Regions from separate parts of the Homo sapiens genome. Here region 2 is linked to region 1. Evidence: promoter capture Hi-C in 16 types of primary human blood cells and fetal thymus (Javierre and others, 2016). All regions are on one chromosome and are shown on one strand. The core of a region is centred on a gene start or on the middle of the fragment in contact, and the rest is flanking DNA. Distances in the headings are between cores, read along the strand shown. Region 1 holds the start of RAB26 (RAB26, member RAS oncogene family). Region 2 overlaps NTHL1 (nth like DNA glycosylase 1).

The links. Contacts are between HindIII fragments. The CHiCAGO score rates a contact against its expected background, and 5 or more counts as called.
Region 2: a fragment that was not itself captured here is called in contact with the fragment with the promoter of RAB26 in region 1 in 9 of 17 cell types (erythroblasts, megakaryocytes, naive CD4 T cells and 6 more); the score reaches 8.5 in erythroblasts.

The regions. Positions count from the first base shown.
Region 1 is chr16:2,146,168-2,151,664 of GRCh38, reverse strand. RAB26 (RAB26, member RAS oncogene family) reads right to left here and starts at 3,040. Exons shown (of 9, transcript NM_014353.5): 1 at 2,687-3,040; 2 at 1,614-1,724; 3 at 55-96. The coding sequence starts at 2,881. RefSeq lists enhancers at 1,282-1,833, 1,834-2,385, 2,386-2,937, 2,938-3,487, 3,488-4,039 and 3 more and silencers at 2,480-2,549, 2,570-2,699, 2,710-2,879, 2,970-3,059, 3,070-3,339 and 1 more. The HindIII fragment of the contact is 14,976 bases long and covers 1-5,497 here.
Region 2 is chr16:2,039,506-2,043,674 of GRCh38, reverse strand. It overlaps NTHL1 (nth like DNA glycosylase 1), which reads left to right. Exons shown (of 6, transcript NM_002528.7): 4 at 1-108; 5 at 3,437-3,542; 6 at 3,628-3,855. The coding sequence ends at 3,751. Among named protein-coding and RNA genes, the nearest start is that of NTHL1, 6.2 kb to the left of the region's middle. The HindIII fragment of the contact is 5,183 bases long and covers 1-3,841 here.

The DNA.
Region 1 (5,497 bases), core at 1,791-4,290:
AGCCCTTCCCTGGTGTCCCCTGTCCCCCAACTTGTCCTCTGCCAGTCACCTTACCTGCAGCTTCACCTTCACACCATCCACGTCCAGAACTTTGTTCTGAAACAGACAGAACCAGGCAGCTCTGGCATGGGCCCAGCCCAGCCTCTGGTCCCACTAGCTTCACTGCCTTCCTGTCCCCTGAGACCTCCCAGCTCCCAGGTCCAGCCCAGCCCCTGCAGGCTTCCCTTAAGCCAATTTGACCTCACCCACACCTGCAAGTGCAGGCCTCTCCCGGCAGCCTCTGCACTATTCCTGCTTAGAGCCTCTTACGCTGACTTATTTGAACTCATGACCCCACCAGGCCTCTTACTGACACTGCCTCGGTTTCCTCATCTGCAAATGGGTGCAGTAACTAACGAGCTGCAACGCCTCAGCCTTCCCAGTAGCTCTTTTTGCTAATTTGAAAGACTCAGGATGGCTTGAACCCAGAAGTTGGAGGTTGCAGTCCACCATGATCACCACTGCACTCCAGCCAGGGCGACAGAGTGAGACCCTGCTTCAAAAGAATAAAAAATTAAAGCCACTCCTTGCTGGGATTGTCAGGGCTGGGCCTGGGCCTGTCTGACCCAAGGCAGTAACCGCAGATCCCAGAACTGCCTGGCAGCGTCCCCAGCCGGGCCCTCCCAGTTAACGATTAGACGTAAGGCAGGGAGTGGTCTAGCCCCAGTCCCATCTGTTGGGGTGGGGGCGGGGGGCTTCAGCCGCAGTCTGAGGCCCTGGGCAGCTGGAACCTGTGCCACCTCCTTCAGCCTGAGCTCCTGCTGTCAGAGTGCTTCTGGGTCTCCCGGGAACCAGGCAGGGCCATCTGCTGGGCTGGGGAGGACACCGCCTTCCCTGGCACCCTGAACGAGAGTGCGAACCAAATGGCCTCACCTCTTACCACCTGCCCGAGAGCCAAGAGGGAGGTGGGGAAGTGGGGACCAGACAGGACTGGCCTGCCCCCCTCGGGCACTTCAGTCGTCACTCCATCCCAGAGGACTTGAGGGGACTTGGAACCCCCAGACTGGAGGGAGCCCCTTTTCCTGTCCCTGGAACAGCCCTTCCTCCATCCTCCCTCTAACTGGCTCTAATTAAAGGGTGAGAAAAATGCAAATTTAAGATTTGCTGAGGACAAGCCGGCACCTCAGCACGAGGAATTCCAGCTGGTGGGGGTGGGGGTGGGCGCTCCTCACCCAAGAGCAGGGTCCTCTCCCCTAGGCAAGCCCTGGAAACCCTCGCTCAGGCTCTGCAGGGAGCATGTGCTTCTAGGGCCCAGTAAGGCCTCTGTACCGAGGCAGCACTGCTGGCCCCAAGTGGACGTGGCCCTTGACTTCCTCTGACCCACCACCCTGTAGGCAACAGTGTCCGCCTCCCCCAAGGCACAGGATATGGTCCCTCGGTAATGCCAGCCCCTGGCATAGGGCAACTAACTATGCTTGTCGGGTGCAGCCACCAGCCCAGGTGTTGGAAGGTCGAGGCAGGCAGCTTCTGGGGTCCAGGCCTCGAGCCTGTTGGTACCATGGGGATCAGAGAGAACTTGCTGCTCGGGTACCGGCGGGACTCTGATGTGGGGCCAGGCCAGGGCCTCCACTCACCCGGAAGTCAATGCCTACGGTGGAGATGAAGGTCCCCGCCAGGAAAGCACCATCCTTGAATCGCACCAGCAGACAGGTCTTCCCCACACCCGAGTCCCCCACCAGCATGACCTAGGACAAGCAGGAGGGTTGGGGGGAGTCTGGTCTGCCCTGAGCTGGCCTGGTCAGAAGGGGGCTGCAGGTGAGGAGCAGGAGTGGAGGGAGGCAGCCCAGGCCTGCAGGCTCAGCGGGGCCAGGGACCCCGATGGGCTGGACACCCAGCGTATGCCTCTGAAAGGCTGGGGCTGCTCTGTCCTTCTGCACAGTGGCCGTCTCAGTCAGCGGGGAGTGAGGGCAGCCACCTGCATCCCGGACCCTCCCTAACGTCCATACCCCCACACGGTGGACAGCATCTGGGAGGGGAGCAGGTGGGGTGGCAGCTGGGTACCTCCTAAGAGACTTGGGGAGGCCTCTGCCGGGGGCTTCTCCACATCCCAGTAGGGACATGACCCCAGCAAGGCTCGAGGAATTTGCCCCATTAGGATCAGATCTCGATCTGAAGAGGGACCTGGGCCAAGTCTGAGGTTGGGGGGAGGTGCAAGTGGGCAGCAGTCAGGCCTTCTCCCCGAAACCTGTGCTACCAAACCCAAAATGGTCCTCCCAGCCCCCTGCCAAGTCCACACAGCCTCTGCCTTGGTCTGGAGTCCCAGGGTTCCCCATCCATCTGGCAAACCTCTTCCCCCCAGCAAAAAAAAAAAAAAAAAAAAAAGGCCCACAGCCGCTGGGTTGAGGGAGGGCAGCATACGGGAAATGGTGAGACCCCGGGCGGGGGCCAGGGCACTGGGGCGCGGGACCCCTTGTGCCACCATGCCGCCTGGGGGGTGGGGGACAGGCCCTGCCAGCTGTTGGATACCCCAGACCTGGGATGGACAGCTGTGTGTGCACGATGCACCGTGCAAGCCCCACGGGGTTCCTCCCGCGTCGGCTCCGCGCCCTGGGGCCGCGGGCCCTGCACCCCCTGTCCGACCCCCAACCCTTGGCTCAGGCCGGGCGCCACCTGCTGCGCTGGCCTGGGGGGCGGGTGCCTGGCTCACCTTGAAGGCGACGTCGTAGAAGTCGACACCGCCGCCAAGCGAGGGCCGGCCGGGCTGCAAGGGCCCGTTGGGCGGCGCGTCGGGGCCGGAAAGCGCAGTCCCGGAGCGCGCCGGTCGGGCCCCGTTGGCGGTGGGCAGCGTGGAGGCAGCGGGGGTGCTGGCCCCTTTGCTCTTGGGGGTCTTCTTCCTGGACATGGCGGGCGGGCGCTCAGTGTGCTCCCGCTGCAGCCGCCGTGCCCTGGGCCGTCCCGCACCCCGCGCCCGCCGAGCCCGACCCGGACCCGAACCCTTCCCCTGGCGGCGGCGGCGGCGGCGGCGGCGGCGGCGGCATCATCCCGGGCGCCCGGCTCGCGCCCCGCCCCCGCCGCTCCACGGGCGCGCAGCCACTCAGGCCCGGCCTCCCGCCGCCGCCGCCAATGCCGTGCGTGGGGCGGGGACATGCAAATACACCCCCGCTCGGCGGGGGGTGGGGGGCGGTCAGGAGGTCCGGGCCCCGTCCCGCCCCCGATCACGACCCCTGCCCGTGGCTGCCTTGGGGCCAGGAGCCAGCTGTGGGGTGACAGGCCTGGGCCAGGAGTCACCCCGGGATCCTGAATCCCCTCTGCTGGCTGCACACCACCCCAGCTCGGTGACCCCCAAACTGGACCGCCAGACCTGGGAGGAAGGGGTGTCCTGAGATGTGGGTGCTGGGGCAGAGGGCCCGCATGGACGGGCACCGCGGGCTTCTGTCTCCTTAGCCCCAGATGCCTAGCGCTTGGCCCGGTGCCCTTCACTGCTCCATCCCCTCCAGGGTAGGCGGGTCCAGGAAGCTCCAGCCCTGGCTTGGCAAACACACCAGGCTGCTGGGGCAGGCGCCCTGGGCTCAGGTGACAGCTGGTCACCGGGAGGACACAGCGGGCGCTGCGATCTCCCCCACAGCTTCTGCCTGCTGTGCACGCCTGGGGATCTGCGGGAAGGAGGAAGTCGCTGTGGCAGCCAGCCCCCGGCCCCCTGAGGGTCCCCTCCCACGGGACTCTGCCCTCAGGGTCTGAAAGGTGGAAAGCAGAGGCCCCTGCCCAGGCTGTGTGGCTGGCCCCTTGTCCTTCTCCTCCAGGTTCGGACCTTCAGGTGGCCAGGGCCGATTCTCCAAATCCTAAGCTGGTCCCTGGCAGACCCACCTCCCCAACCTGGGCTGCACTGGAGCTCTGTCACCCCCTCTCACAGAGAAGATGGGACTGCAGTGGTCAGAGCTGGGGCACAGTGGTCCAGAGGGGTGGTGTCCTTGGCATGCAGGGGCTTCTTGGTGTTTCTTTGGGAGCTGGAGAGATGACCCAGCTGTCCCCGGAGACCTGACAGCTGTCACCAGGACCTTGGGCCCTTCAGAGACCTGAGCCCTCCCAGCTGGCAGTGCCCAGAGTCCAAACAATTGGCTGCCTCTCGGGTCAGAGGCCTGAGAAAACACAGATGGGGGGCACTGCCCAGCAGAGTGATTCCTCGAGAGGGCCTGGCAGAGGCCGTGGAAGCCTGCCCTACAGCAAGCACTGTTGTGTGCCAGGCACACGACCTCTTCAAAGTTATCCTGCAAGGTGGGTACTGCCCTCAGTGTCCAGATGGGGAAACCGAGGCCCAGAAAGGCAAGGAGCCTGTGCAAGGTCAGCAGGCTAGGAAGGGCAGAGCTAGGATTTGTTCCTGTGATCTCCAGCTCCAGAGAACATAAACCGTCCCATGGCAGAAATCCCTGTAGACTTAATCCCCAGGAACCTGGCAGAGCTGGGGGTCAAACCCGGAAGCCCTCTCAGAACCCTTCCTTGTCTCACTCCTCTGGCCCCCCAGCTCTTCCAGACCAACCCCCAGTGTGTGTGCACTGGGCCTGGGTAGAGGCATTTAGCTTCTGCAGCTGCAGCCCTGGGGACTCCAGGTGTCCACCCGCGCTACAAGGCCTCTTTCAGGATGGCTGGCCCAGGGTCTGAGCTGGGGGCCTCAGCAGCTGCTGTGCACTGGCCCCAGGGTCCTGGGCAGTGGACTCCCAGTCCAGTGGACCCCGTCCTGCCAGCTGCTGCTCAGGTACCCCCAGGGCGCGGGCAGCAGGAGGAGTTGGGTGCAAGTAGGGCATCCTGCAGGGGGAGGAGTGCGGATGGGGCCCCCAGGAAGAGAAGGAGGCAGGCGCGCTGGAGAAAGTGGGAGGCCAGGCGGGGAGGGGAGCCTTGAGAGAGCAGAGGAAACGGGCTTGCGCTGGCAACCTTTAAAATTAGGAGAGTTTACATAAAAATCCAAGTCTCTGGTTTCTCTTGAAAATGGGGAGCTCTGGGTGCCTGCATCACAGACCCCTCTCTTGGCTTCCAGCAGGCCTCGGAATCTTTGATCATTATGTCTCTTGGTTGCTGTGTTTGCCATCTGTTTCACCCTCTGGAGTGTAAGCTCTCCGGGCACAGGAAGCAGCTTGTCTTGGTCAACTGCTGTCCCCAGCAGCCAGCTCTGGGCCTCCATAAGCAGTTATTAAATTGGTGAAAGAGGTGTGGTGGCTCACGCCTGTAATCCCAGCACTTTGGGAGGCTGAGCAGGCAGATCACTTGAGGCCAGGAGTTTGAGACCAGCCTGGCCAACATGGTGAAACCCCGTCTCTACTAAAAATACAAAAATTAGCTGGGCCTGGTGGCATACGCCTGTAATCCCAGCTACTCGGGAGGCTGAGGCAGGAGAATCGCTTGACCCCAGGAGGAGGAGGTTGCAGTGAGCTGAGATTGTGCTGTTGCATTCCAGCCTGGGTGACAGAGCGAGACTCTGGGGAAAAAAAAAAGAAAGAAAAGAAAAGAGAAAGAAATGTGACTTAGA
Region 2 (4,169 bases), core at 1-2,500, 110 kb after region 1:
GTGGGGACATCCCAGCCTCTGTGGCCGAGCTGGTGGCGCTGCCGGGTGTTGGGCCCAAGATGGCACACCTGGCTATGGCTGTGGCCTGGGGCACTGTGTCAGGCATTGGTGAGTAGAGGAGGGCGGGGCTGGCTCCAGCCCACTGGCTGCTCTTGGGATTCCCCACATCCTTGTGACCTGTGACTCCACTTCCAGCATGCTGGTCCTCCACCCAGCCCATAGAGTCAGAAAGGTGCTCCCAGGGTGGAGCCAGGCCAGCCCCACTCAGAGACAGGTGCTGGGGCAGGAGGTCACATGGGCTGAGCACCTGCTCCGTGCAGGGCTCTGAGAGAGGCCCCGGAGCTGGACTCCATCTGCGTTGTATTCGGGAGAAATGTGGAGCGAGGAATTCCCCACTCGTGGAGTGGAAACCCTGATGGTTGTGCAGGGTGCTCTTGGGGCCTGGCTTGGGCCCAGGGCCTCTGGGAAGGCCCCCAAGGTCATCCTTCACCTGAGAGCTGCAGAGCAAGGTGGGGTGAGCCAGGCCAAGAGGAGGAAGTGTGTTCCCAGCAGAAGGAACAGCATCTGTAAAACCATGATGCGAGAGAGAGGGCCAGGAGCAGGAAGTTCTGGAATGAGATGAGGGCAGAGTGGGGAGGTAAGGACTGAGGAGGGAGGAGGAAGAGTATCCCCTCAGCAGGTGGGGTGGGGAGGGAGGTGCTGGGGGGAGAAAGGGGGAGGGTGGGGAGGGAGGCTCTGCGGGGACAGGAGGGGAATGGTAGGGAGGGAGGCGCTGGGGGAATGGGGGAGGAGGGTGGGGAGGGAGGCGCTGGGAGGATGGGGGGAGGGTGGAGAGGGAGGTGCTGCGGGGAGAAGAGGGGAGGGTTGAGAGGGAGAAGAGGGGAGGGTGGGGAGGGAGGCACTGGGGGGAGGGCCCTCCTTGAATCCTTTTCCCAGGTCCTGGTGTCTCTTCCTAGCACCGGAGGCTTCTTGGCAGTTGGGTGCAGACAGACCCCTGGGTTTGGGGTGGGGCTGCCTCCTCCTCGGCTTTGTCCAGAGGATTTGGGGCTCCTAAGGCCACACGCAGCCGGGCCCAGCCAGTCCAGAAACCAGGGCTTGGCCCTGCCCTCTGTGTGCCCCCATCCCAGGCCCCTTTGGGACTCCTGCAGGGGGCCTGTGCCGGAGGCGGGGGGCTTGCAGCACTTTCTGGTGGGCAAGAGGGCCACCAAGGGCCGGGGGCCTCTATTCTGAGCCGGGGCCACCTGGTGAGGCTGAACAGCCACAGCAGCCCCAAAGAGCCAGAGCCAGGCCAGGTGCGCCGGGGCAGGGCCTCCTCCCGACTGAGACTCCCAGCGTCACCACCTGCCAGCCTCTCAGTGGACACTTGAGCTTATCTGGGCGGCTGTCCTCAGCTGCCCGTGTCCCTGGGGTGCTGCATCGTGGTTGGGCAGGGCTGTGGGGGAAGGTCCCTGCCCGCAGCCAGGCAGGGAACGGGCTTTGGGAGCAGCGGGCACAAGAGACAGCCATGTGGAAATACCTCCCTCTCCAGGTGTCTGTGGGCCTGACCACCTGCAAGGAGACCCCAGGGCTGCCTCCTAGGGGTTCCCCGAAAGAGAAACGCTCTCAGTTAAAATGTCAGAGCTGGCTGGGTACAAGGGCTCAAGCCTGTAATCCCAGCACTTTGGAAGGCCGAGGTATGTGGATCACCTGAGGTCAGGAGTTCAAGATCAGCCTGGCCAACGTGGTGAAACCCGCTCTCTACTAAAAATACAAAAATTAGCCGGGTGTGGCCAGGCGTGGTGGCTCACGCCTGTAATCCCAGCACTTTGGGAGGCCGAGGCAGGCAGATCACGAGGTCAGGAGATCAAGACCATCCAGGCTAAGATGGTGAAACCCCGTCTCTACTAAAAAACACAAAAAATTAGCCAGGCATTGTGTCAGGCGCCTGTTGTCCCAGCTACTCGGGAGGCTGAGGCAGGAGAATAGTGTGAACCTGGGAGGTGGGGCTTGCAGTGAGCTGAGATCGCGCCAGTGTACTCCAGCCTGGGCGACAAAGCGTGACTCCGTCTCACCAAAAAAAAAAAAATTAGCCGGGCGTGGTGGCAGGAGCCTGTAATTCCAGCTCCTCGGGAGGCTGAGGCAGGAGAATCGCTTGAAACCCAGAGGCGAAAGTTGCAGTGAGTGGAGATCGCACCATTGTCTGTATCCAGCCTGGGTGACAGAGCAAGACTCCGTTTAAAAAAAAAAAAAAATGCCACAGCCATAGATTGCTGGCTCCGGTCCCAGCTCTGCACCTCCTGGCTGGGTGACTCTGGGCCAGGCCCTTGGCTTCTCTAAGCTCTGGCCACAAAGTGGGTGAGGCAGTCCTCGTCATTCACTGTCCAGGTGGGCAGGAGGCTCACACAACGTGACGTGGCCTGACTCAGCCTTGAAGCATGGCCACTTCCGTGTTACAGAGGAGGAAACTGAGGCTCAGAGCCCCAGGGGTGTGACCCCTCAGGCCTTGTGGTCTCCCCACACCCTCGGACACCTTTTTCTAGGCAGCAGCGAAGGAGCTGGTGCAGGCCTCGGCTTTCTCTTTGGGAAACACGGGAGGAGGAGGCAGGGCTGGGGCTGCAGCTGGCCGGGGCCACCGGGTGGGAGAAGGGAGCCCCAGTGAGCAGACGCCTGGGGTGGCCAGCTGAGGGGAGCAGGAGCCAGAACCCAGGTGGACAGCAGCTGCGGCCGGCCAGGGCATGCTCCCGCTGTGTCCCTGACCGCTGCAGTGGCAGGTGCTAGGTCTGCAGGCAGTGACCTCATGCCGGCCTGCCAGGCAGAGCTGTTGCCACCCAGCCTGGTGCCCAGAGCCAGTGCTTATGCCGAGAGGAGCCTCAGGCCACAGGAGACAGACAGAGGGAAGCCTGGATGGACCCTTCCGGGGACAGGGCCACGTTCCTGGGGAGGCTGAGGGCTGAGAGGTGCTTCGGAGTCGGGATCCTGCCGGGCCTCGGTTTCAGCATCCGTAGGACCTCATGAGGACTCACTGAGCTGGCCAATCTCTCTGGCAGGGTCTGGCCCCCAGCAAGCGTTTGTCCAAGCGAGCTGTCGCTGTTATTGTGGGGAATAGAGCTCCAAGCAGAGCCGAGTCATCACCCCCAGGCCCTGCCCAAAGCAGAGACCCCACCACCCACACATCCAACTAGCACCAGTGTTGGGAGTGGGCAGCCCAGAACAGAGCCCCCCAGGCTGGCTCAGGTGATGGGAGAGAGGCCTGCACCCCAACAGAGGGCTCAGCCCCTGCCCCAGCACCTCAGGGGCAGCCAAGATGGTCACATGTAGGCTTGCAGCCAGGGCTTTGCGGTTCCAATGTCTAACTGGAGGGCCACGGGGGTGGTGGCAGACTCGCCTCTGGGCGGGGAGGGGCACGGGCTAGGCTGGTGGAGTGTGCCCCTGTTCACCCCGCTTGGCCTCCCAGCAGCAGTGGACACGCATGTGCACAGAATCGCCAACAGGCTGAGGTGGACCAAGAAGGCAACCAAGTCCCCAGAGGAGACCCGCGCCGCCCTGGAGGAGTGGCTGCCTAGGTATGAGTATGTGGGGGGCTTCCTAGGGAGAAGAGCTCACCCCGCCCGCCCTCTGTCAGCACTGACCCAGCCCCCACCCCCACAGGGAGCTGTGGCACGAGATCAATGGACTCTTGGTGGGCTTCGGCCAGCAGACCTGTCTGCCTGTGCACCCTCGCTGCCACGCCTGCCTCAACCAAGCCCTCTGCCCGGCCGCCCAGGGTCTCTGATGGCCGCATGGCTCTGGCCGAGGTGCCGCTGTGGCCACCGTCTGTGAAGTGGCTTTACGCTTCAGGAAGCCACGCCTGTTGAATAAAGCTTTGGTGTGTTTGCAGATGGGATCTGGCTGATGTCTGTCCCTGAGGGGGCAGAGAGCCTGGGAATCGCATACAAGGATGTGTTCGTACACACCCGTGCTCGCGTGTCTGGAGCAGGGCTGCCTGGGAGGCCGGCTGGGGACGTGACAATCTTTGCTATGTACTCAGGGAGGGGGAGGGGGTGTGCATGAACCTGGGAGGGAGGAAGTGGGGAGAGCCAGCTGCAGCCAGCTGTTGGAAGTCCGCTGGGGAAGCAAGCAGCCCCCGGGCAGCTGGCTGGGGACCCTGGCCCCTCATGCTATCCACCGCCGGCCCCCCAGCTTCCCAGCCC